Linked DNA regions of Homo sapiens: regions 1 and 3 are each linked to region 2. The links are contacts of gene promoters, found by promoter capture Hi-C in blood cells and fetal thymus (Javierre and others, 2016). All regions are on one chromosome and are shown on one strand. The core of a region is centred on a gene start or on the middle of the fragment in contact, and the rest is flanking DNA. Distances in the headings are between cores, read along the strand shown.

What was found. Contacts are between HindIII fragments. The CHiCAGO score rates a contact against its expected background, and 5 or more counts as called.
Region 1: a fragment that was not itself captured here is called in contact with the fragment with the promoter of KCNQ1 in region 2 in 1 of 17 cell types (naive CD4 T cells); the score reaches 6.1 in naive CD4 T cells.
Region 3: a fragment that was not itself captured here is called in contact with the fragment with the promoter of KCNQ1 in region 2 in 1 of 17 cell types (total CD8 T cells); the score reaches 5.1 in total CD8 T cells.

Annotation. Positions count from the first base shown.
Region 1 is chr11:2,952,027-2,955,041 of GRCh38, reverse strand. It overlaps NAP1L4 (nucleosome assembly protein 1 like 4), which reads left to right. Exons shown (of 16, transcript NM_005969.4): 12 at 396-515. Among named protein-coding and RNA genes, the nearest start is that of SNORA54, 10 kb to the left of the region's middle. The HindIII fragment of the contact is 897 bases long and covers 808-1,704 here.
Region 2 is chr11:2,443,481-2,446,588 of GRCh38, reverse strand. KCNQ1 (potassium voltage-gated channel subfamily Q member 1) reads right to left here and starts at 1,581. Exons shown (of 16, transcript NM_000218.3): 1 at 1,105-1,581. The coding sequence starts at 1,490. TRPM5 (transient receptor potential cation channel subfamily M member 5) reads left to right here and starts at 2,075. Exons shown (of 29, transcript NM_014555.4): 1 at 2,075-2,158. RefSeq lists silencers at 1,592-1,661, 1,672-1,781. The HindIII fragment of the contact is 13,739 bases long and covers 1-3,108 here.
Region 3 is chr11:2,184,036-2,187,149 of GRCh38, reverse strand. No RefSeq gene overlaps it. Among named protein-coding and RNA genes, the nearest start is that of MIR4686, 13 kb to the right of the region's middle. The HindIII fragment of the contact is 1,911 bases long and covers 357-2,267 here.

The sequences.
Region 1 (3,015 bases), core at 7-2,506, 510 kb before region 2:
ACTCTGGGATTAATTTGAAATCATTACACATCTAAGTAAAAGTATGTGTTTCATATGTTGATTTCAGTAGCAAATGTGCAGTGCTTTAATACTGCCTGTTTCCCATATGTGAGACTGATACCGCCTACTCTGGGTGAGACCTTTGGACAAGTTGTGGAGCTGTAGGGCCCTCACTTCCCACTTTCTCTGCCATTTTGCTTCAGTAGCTCTTTAAAGCTACTTAAAGTTGTTTTAAAGGGGCTTTGAGTGTCTAGTGGCTGTCCCCCAGCAGTGCAGGAGTTTGGTGTTTTAAGTTAAGTAAATCAAAAGTGAGGGGCTGAGGTTTGGCTGAGGGTGGTGAAGTGAATGTTTTTATCCCATTAAAATGAGTTAACACGTAGGTTTTTCCTCCTCAGGATGAAGATTCTGAATTCACATTAGCCTCTGATTTTGAAATTGGACACTTTTTCCGTGAGCGGATAGTCCCGCGGGCTGTGCTGTACTTCACTGGGGAGGCCATAGAAGATGATGACAATGTATGAGGCTCGGGGAAGGGGGGCTTCCACCTGGGTGCTTATCTCTGTTGGTGCAGAGTGGCCCTGAATTGTGGCTTAGGAAACCCCCATGCCTAATCTTTTTATTACATCATCAGCCAGATATGTAGTCCAAGCTGCTGTCCTTGTTGTGGGGGGAATACGCTTGAAGAGGAGAAGTCTGAGGAACAGAGCAGGAAAAGCAGGTGTCTGTGAAGCAGTTTCAGAGGTGATTGCCAGTTTCCTATGTGAGCCCTGCCTAGTGACTCAACAATATTCTCTCAAAACCTAAGCTTCAGGGAACTTGTGAACACAGGGAATATCTCTTTTATGGAGGTCTGGCCACAACAAACATTTATTGACAGTGGACTTATGCTAGCCTGTGGTTCATCAACCCAAAAGAAATAGAAATTCCTGAACTTCTATCTAATTAGGTAAAAAGGAAAAAAAAGAAACCCGTGCTCCCGAAGAAAACAACAAGATTGCATGTCACTTTCCTTTCTGGGCTTGAGGGAAGCCAGCTCTTCCACAGTCAGAACTTGCGGGTGCACAGCCCAAGTACCGCTTAGAAACTCCCATCCTCACCAAGGCTCAAGCAGCTTCAAGTCTTCTTGATCTGTGGAAAATAAAGTTTTGTTTTATAGACTGTTACTGGAAGTATGTTCTAGATGATACTCTCTTTCTTGTGGAGCTCTTAGGTTTCTTTTCTTAGAAGGTCTGGTCTGTTGGGGCTTCAGACAGGGCGGCAAGAGCTTAGGTGGGTTCAAGGGCCTTAGCCCCCTGTGGCAGTAAAGGCCAACATCTCCTCACACCTCTCCCATTGTACTGAGTTCCACCAGTGGGGAGAATAGGCCAGCGTGCTCTTTATCAGCTGTTAGGTCTTAGACTGTTCATTTAACTTCTAAAACTCAACTTGCTGGCTCATCCCTAGGTTGGGAGGTGATTGCAGGTCAGGGAACATGGACAGTCAGGTAGCTGCCAAGACATAGTTTTACAAATTCTAGACCAGCACTTTCCAGTAGAACTTTCTCTGTTGATGGAACTGTCCTCTGCCTGCTTGGTCCAGTGCAGTAGGACTGACCACTTGAGGACTTGAAATATGGCTGCTGAGACTGAAGAACTGAACATTTCATTTACCTTAGTTTAAATTTAAATAGTGAGCTAAGGGCTAGTGGCTACACATTGGAAAGCTTATCTGAAACTGTTTTGATCATACACCCGTCAGTTTAAAGGACTTGAATATGCATGTGTGCTATTTGCTTACTTATATGCGGTATCTGTACTGCTGGTGAGCACTGTGCCACATTTGCTTATAGTACATGTGCGTTTCATTCACAATACGTTCAGCACAGGTACTACTGATGAGCAGTGTCAGTTAGAGGCTAGAAGTGCCAGCTCAGATTAGACTGCTCAGACTCGCATCCCCATTCTCCCTTTAGTAGCTCCACCACCTCCTTGAGCTTCAGTTTCCTCAGCTGTAAGTAGAGCTCATGGTAAAGACTCTGGTTACTTGTTAAGCCCTTAACATAGCACCTGGCACAGAGCAATGACTCAGTAAGTGTTGGCATAAAGTGTTTTACTAATGTTACTTTCTAGACCGTACCCCAACACTAGAAAGTTGTTGGAGGAGGAGGTGAATGTGGGAACCCTGGTCTTGTCTTCTCTGCACGTGGCAGCTCCTGCTCTGCCCAGGTGGGTGATGCATCTGGAGCAGCCCCTGTGCACAGCCCCTTAAGGGCAAAATGCTGTCCTTAGAGCCTTGGAATAGGCCCTGGAGCCTGCTGGAGGCTCGTTGGATCTGACGTGAAATGGAAGAATATTGAGAAGCCTTTCCCTGCCTGATGCCAGTTAGGGTCCTTAGAGCGGAAGGGCGCTGCACCGTGGCCACATCTCATCCTGGCTGCTGCGTGGCGCCAGGAGGCTGTGCACACTGTGTGAACTCCACACCAGCACAGTAGGGCCCTTCTAAGTTCCACCGAAGTTGGCTCTAAGCAAATACATGGTGTGAGCTCAACAAAATGGGAAATGTTGATAAATGAAGCTGCATTTTCATGCACTACCCTTGTTATGCAACCAGTAGTGATAAGGTGGTTTTGCTTTTGGTGTAAGTCTCATGTTTGAAACTTGATTTTTAGTCTGACCAATGATGTATTTGGATGTAGGAGAAACTGATTCAAGACAATTGACTAATGGTGGAGGTTCACCTTTGAGCACCTTATTGATCACTTTAAAGATTAAACACCAAAGTTTTAATATATTTCTACTAAGGTTTCTTTTCCCTTTGTATGAGATGTAAAATGATACCCAGATTCCTGTATCCAATAACATTATGCTGCTGGTTCGATCAGCCTTGTAGAAAATTTAAGGAAAACAAATTCATCGGTTTACAAAAATCTTTTCCTGTGTGCCTGCTCCTCGGTGTGAGAACAGCCAGGGCAGAGCTGTGGTGCCAGGTTCCCAGCTGTGTCCAGGGTACACCCTGGCTGACCAGCTTCCTATCCTA
Region 2 (3,108 bases), core at 332-2,831:
TTTGGGGCCTGGCTCCTGCTGTCACCCGCCCTGAGGCCCTGGTGGCAGCTGCCAGCAGGCATGGACAGGCCTCTGGATGCCCTCCAGCCAGTTCTCTACTGAGCCTGCCCGAGGCAGAGGAGATGCTTCCACCTGAGGACGCTCAGGGAGACCACCCTTCAGCCCTCAGGTGAGCCCCACAGCCATCAGCCATGGGATGTCTGGGTAGAGGCTCCCAGGCCAGAGGCTGGCACCACACCAAAAGGCCGCTGGCTGGGCAGCCAGGAAGTAGGGCCACTGGGGCAGCGGGGGAAGGCCCCAGGCAGGCATGGAGGAGAGCAGCCTGGACCTTCCCGGAGGTGACTTCCCAGGCCTGTCCCTGAGAAATCCAGTGCCCAGCCCTGCTCAGGCACGCTGTACCGGGAATTGGAACCACCTGGTAACAGGGGGGCCAGGTGCCTCTGCTACCAGCGCTGCTTTCTCCGGGAGCACAGCTGCCTCTTAGTGAGAGCTGCAAACGTGCCTCTCCGCTCTCTGCATCAAGCCAGGTTTTCATGAGCTTGGTTCAATTAGTTAATGTGGGGCCCGTGGGGACGGCCCGTGGCATGCTGAGCCCTCAGGGAGCACCGCCACCGTCACCTTCCTATCCTGGACAGCCCCCTGCCCCAGAGTCCACCTGGGCCTCAGGGGGTCTGAGATGCGGCACCGGACATCAGGGGCCTTCTCTCTTGGGGGCTCCTGAGCCTCGAGTCTCAGCCGACCTTGAGGAGTTATCTTACTGCACCCAAGGGTGCGCTCCCCAGCACGCTTCTCTTCCCAGAAGGATTCACACCTGGACTACCCTCCCGGAGGTGTGGAGCCAAATTCTGGGCTCCAGGTGGTCCCCTCCCCAGCCGGCTCCCTCCCCACGCCGGGCCTGCGAGAAGATGCGCACCCCCAGACACAGCAGCGCCTCTGAACTTCAAGGGAGAGTGCAGAGTTTGTGTTTCTGCGTTTCCCCACTTCCTTCCCTCCTCTGCTCCGGGGTCGCAGCTCCGACGGGGCAGGTGGCGCTGGGACAGAGCTCCCCCACACCAGCTCTCAGGAAGCACCTTCGTGCCGGCCGTCGCCGGTGGCGATACTCACACGGCGAAGTGGTAAACGAAGCATTTCCAGCCGGTGGGACGCTCGAGGAAGTTGTAGACGCGGCCCTGGACGTGGGTGCGCGCCAACACCGGGCGGCGCGTGCTGTAGATGGAGACGCGCGGGTCTAGGCTCACCGGCGGCCGCGGGCCAAGGTCGGAGGCAACTGGGGGCGCGGCGGGCGCGGCCGGGGACGCAGGGGGCGCGGGACCTGGGGCGCCGGGCGCGATGGGCGCGTAGAGCGCGCCGCCCGCCGGGCCGCCCTCCGCCAGCTCCAGCGAGAAGGGGCACTTCTTGGCCAGGCCCGCGCTGCCCCGCCGGGCGCCTGGCAGGCGGCCCCAACCCCAGCGCTTCCTCTCGGCCCTGGGCGGGGAGGAGGCCGCGGCCATAACGAGGAGGGCCTGCCGGGGGGCCGGCCCGAGCGGCGGCACCGGGAGCTGCAGCGAAGGCGAGCGCCCGGGCGCAGTGCGGGCAGCCACTGCTGCCAGCCCCGCCGCGGGGGGCCGCTGCCGGCCCAGCCCGGGCGCTCGGGGCGGGGCCGGAGGGGGCAGTGGCCGAGGGCCGGTCCCATGGGACGGCGTGCCCCGCCCCCGCCTGCACGCCCCGCCCCCGCCGGTCCGGCGCGCACAGGGCGTCCCTGCCCGCGCCCACCGGCTTGGCCCGCCCTCTCCCCACGGACCGGCCTGGCCCTGCCTCCGCCTCACCCCCTGGCTTGGCCTGTCCGCGCCCCCGCCCCCGCCTGCGCCCCCGCCCCCACCCCCACCCCCGCCCGAGCCCACCTGCTTAGCCCCGCTCGTGTCATCTATCCCGCTTGGCCCCGCCCCCTCCTCGCCCACCTGTTTGGCCCCGTTCCAGTGTGCATTTACCCCGCCTGGCCCCGCCCCCTCCCCGCCCACCTGCTTGGCCCCGCCCTCACCCACCTGCTTGGCCCCGCCCCGTCTGCATCTCCCCTGCTTGCTCCTGCCCTGCCCTCACCCACCTGCTTGGCCCCCACTTCTGATGCCCGCCTGCTCTGCCTGGCCCGGAGGAGGACCCCAGCTGCGCCAGGGAGGAAGGGGTAAGGCCTGGCCGATACCACGACCGAGAACGGCACAGCGGGGGCAGGAGGGGCGGGGTAGGGTGCCGGCATCTACTTTCCCTCCCTCTGAGCCACTCCGGAGTTGGGGTTGGGGGGAGGAAAGGGATGTCCTGGGTGAGGGTGTGCTGGCCCCGCGATCACTGTGAGCGCCCCCGGGTGCCCAGGCGCGCGAGCTGCGGGCGGCGAATACGCTCGGGTCGCTTCCCACCAGGGCCCTTGGACCGGGAGGGTGAGATGGGACCACCACTGTCAGGTACCTCCCAGTGGGAGCTGTGTGGGTGGGGAGCCGGCAGGGCTGCTGGGGGGTGGGGGCGGCACAGCCGGGGTCTGGACCTGGTTTGACTGCCGGGCATAGCAGGCGGGGCTGCCTGGGCAGTTAAAGGGAGAGGCGCTTGCGCCACCCTAGTAACTTGGAGAATGGGCGCCTTGTCCTCCCCACCGTCGAGACCGCGCTGCCGCTGCGCCCCGTGGATTCCCCTGGGTGGGGGTGGGTTGGTCACATCGGAAGATTTTCACAGGTCTCTGCACTGCCTCCCGCCCGCTACTGGCATTTGGGTCTCAGCACGTCTCAGGCTTGGGGGGGGGGTGGGGGGCAGCCAACAGAAGAGACCGGCTTTTTTCAGGATACTGCACACAGCCCTGAGGCAGGGACTAAAGGTGGAGCTCAGCGGTGACTCTCCGCCCCGCCAGGAGACCCATAACTCATGTGACACTTCCAGGTCGTCCCTGAGCACCCTGGGTCAATTTGATGTATCTACCACCCCCTGCCAAAAGTCTGCTCTTTTATCGTGGACGGAGTCCAGCCCAGGCCCTTGACGCCTGACTCCCCACCCTAGTGAGGTGCCACACAGGAGTGCACAGTCTGTATTTGCAGCAAGAGTGGATGGAGTGGGTCCCAGCTTGTGCTGGGCGCTGTGATAACACAAGGG
Region 3 (3,114 bases), core at 63-2,562, 260 kb after region 2:
GCAGCTTGTCATGGAGAGCAGTCAGTCCCTGGCTGCCTGGCGCCGCTTCCTTCTCGGGCTGCCATCCTGGGAAGGGCCCCCTTCGCCCGGCCGTGCCTCCTGCTCCTGCCTCTGCTGCCCTTCGAATGCAGCCGCCCTTTTCAGCAGCCTCTCCAGGGAGGCCTGGGTGGGCCGCCCTCATCTTTTGTCTCCTCAGCGGGGGTTGCAGTGGCTTCACCTGGAGGCTCCGAGGGAGCACACGTGCGTCCTCTGGGTGAAGGCTGCCCAAGTGCTTGCGTCTGGGCGCCATCCTGTGGTGCCCACAGGGATATCAGGCTGAGAAGGCCTTTGTGCTGGGGTCCTTTATAAAATAAGCTTACCGGGGCATCTACGGCAGGTCAGAGTCAATATTCAAACGTGTTGTTGTCTAAAAATGCCTGGAAATTTTACTCCTAATGTCAAAGGAGGCCCCTCCCATGGGCTCTGAGACTGGAGCGTGGGGGTTGTGAGCAGAAGGACGCAGAGGAGGGGAAGTGCTAGAGAGTGGGGGGTCCGGCCCACCAGGGGCCCTGCGTTGGCAAGACCTGAGGTCATGCCATCATTTTCAGGCAGTGGGAGCCATTGAAAGTGCTTGAGTAAGAGAGTGGCCAAGGCAACGTGCGTTTGATGAAATCAATGAAGCACCTGTATTGGGAGGTGTTTGCTGGAAAGAGATAGAGTGAGGGTGGCTGGGAAGAACCGTGAGGCCTGTGTACACATTTCAGGGGTCCTCACTAAGCCTGGGTGTCTCATGGAGCTGTGGCAGGCTGCATGGACCGTGGGATTTGTTTGGACTCCCAGCTCTCCGTGGGGATGTGGAGAAGGTGAGAGGCCCTGGGGCTGAGGGGGCAATAGCCTGGATCGGAGAAGGTGGCAAGCAGAGGTCAGATGGGGAGGGACTGGAACGCCCCAAACCACAGCCATTTACACCTGGGTGCCAGGTGGGAGCCAGGAAGAGGGGCCAGGATGTTGGACGCCAGCTCCACCCCGTGACTGCTCCCTGCCCAGGCGGACAGTGGGGAGGGGGCATACAGCACTCTGAGGATCATAAGGGTGGGGACCCCAGGAGCTGAATCTAGAAGGAAAGGGCTCCTTCCAGAGGAGGTCATTTGGAGATCCTGCCATCCCCACCCCCTTCCAAACAGCCAAACCCGCTCTGGCACCACCGCCTTCCCTATGCCCCCACCCCAGCTCCAGCTGAACGCCCTCGCCCAGCTTCCTTGGGAGACTGCCAATCTAGGCTGAGTTTTGCAGCTCCTTCTCTGGAGCGCGAGCCAGGCGCAGGCTCTGACACTGTCAGGGCAGCGGTAATGACATCGGCCTCGAGTCCAGGGCCAGCCCAGGCCCCCTGTGCCCGTAGACGAACCCTCAGAGGATGCAAGCCTGAGGGTCCCCATTCTGGTCCGAATGGGAAGCCACTCCAGAGGCGCGCTGGCGCAGGGGGCGGGGATCCCGAGGTGGCCTGGACAGAGTCAGCCTCCTCATGTCGCCCAGCCCTGGCGCCCAGGCCCTCCCCAAGGAAGGTGGGGTGCATGGCCTGCCTGCTCCCTCCGCAGGGCTCCCTGCGGCATCTCAGTGCTTGTGGAGCTGACAGCTCTCTCTGCCTTCCTAACCCTTGATCCCTTTGATAAACATCAAAACCTCAGCATCAGCATTGCCTGGAGGCCATGCCCTCCATGCTGCCTCCCCTGCACAGGCACTCACAGATACATTCACCCCAATTCAGAAGATTCTGCCCAGCCCACCATCTGTGGTTTGTAAAAGAGAAACAATAGACCATCGGTTGCTATTGCTTCTAAATGCAAAACTGCGCTATGACATTACATGTGCTTTTCTGGGAACACAGTCCCCTACCCCAGTGTGCACGAGAAAGGTGCTGGTGCTTCCCTTCTTTGGGGGAACATTGCTGTTTTTGGGGTAGGTTGTTGGACAAGATCCGGATGGCAGAAACCACAAAGGAGACGGTTGACAAGCGTGGCTCCCCGAAGCCACATCATTGCCAAGCCTTCTTGATGACCACAGTCTCCATAAACACGGTAAAGGGTGGACCAGGCTCTGGGAGATGATACTTCCTGCCGAAAAGGATTCATGTCGGGAATGCGTAAAGAATTCCCACATCTCATCAGGAAAAGTGTAAGCTCCAAAGGGAAGATGAGGGGAGGAAGTGAAGGGATCGTTCGAGAGAGGGAGAAGTAGAGATGCTCGGGAAGCAAGCGGACCTGAGATGCCGCTGAAGTGTCATTCAAGCTTTGTAATGTCGGGCGTGGATGATGACCTGGAAGACAGACGCTGTTGGGTCGCGCTGGCGGAGTGTGACGGGAGAGGTGCTGGGGCATTCCTAAGAACATGAATGTGGGCTCCCAGAGCTCATAAGCTCATGATTTCCCTCCTCCCCAAAGGGGCTCACCCTCCAGTATCCAGGCTGGGGGGCCAGGAGCACACGCACCTTTTTATATTTGTGTTTGTGCACGTGTGTATGTGTGTGTTCAAAGGAGAATCTGTTGCTCATGTAACTAAAATTAAAAATAATATAGATGTAGAGAAATTGGAAGTCTTGTGCTCTGTTGGGGGGAGTGTGTAATGGTCCAACATGGCCCAACAATGCCACCTCTAGGTCTAGCCCCAAAAGAATTGAAAGAAGGCTGGGTGCAGTGACTCATGCCTATAATTCCAACACTTTAGGAGGCCAAGGCAGGAGGATCACCCAGGCCAGGAGTCCAACACCAGCCTGGGCAACATATGGAGATCCCCTATCTCTACAAGAAATTAAAACATTAGCTGGGCGTGGTGGTGCGCACCTGCATTCCCAGCTCCTTGGGAGGCTGAGGTGGGAGGATTGCTTGAGCCCAGGAGTTTGAAGCTGCAGTGAGCTATGATGGTGCCACTGCACTCCTGGGTGACAGAGTGAGGCCCCATCTCTTAAAAAACGTATGTGTGTGTGTATGTGTATACAGAAAGGGGGGTCTCAGCTGGGCGCGGTGGCTCACTCCTGTAATCCCAGCACTTTGGGATGCCGAGGCAGGTGAATCATGAGGTCAGGAGTTCCAGACCAGCCTGGCCAATATGGTGAAACCCTGTCTCTACTAAAAATATAAA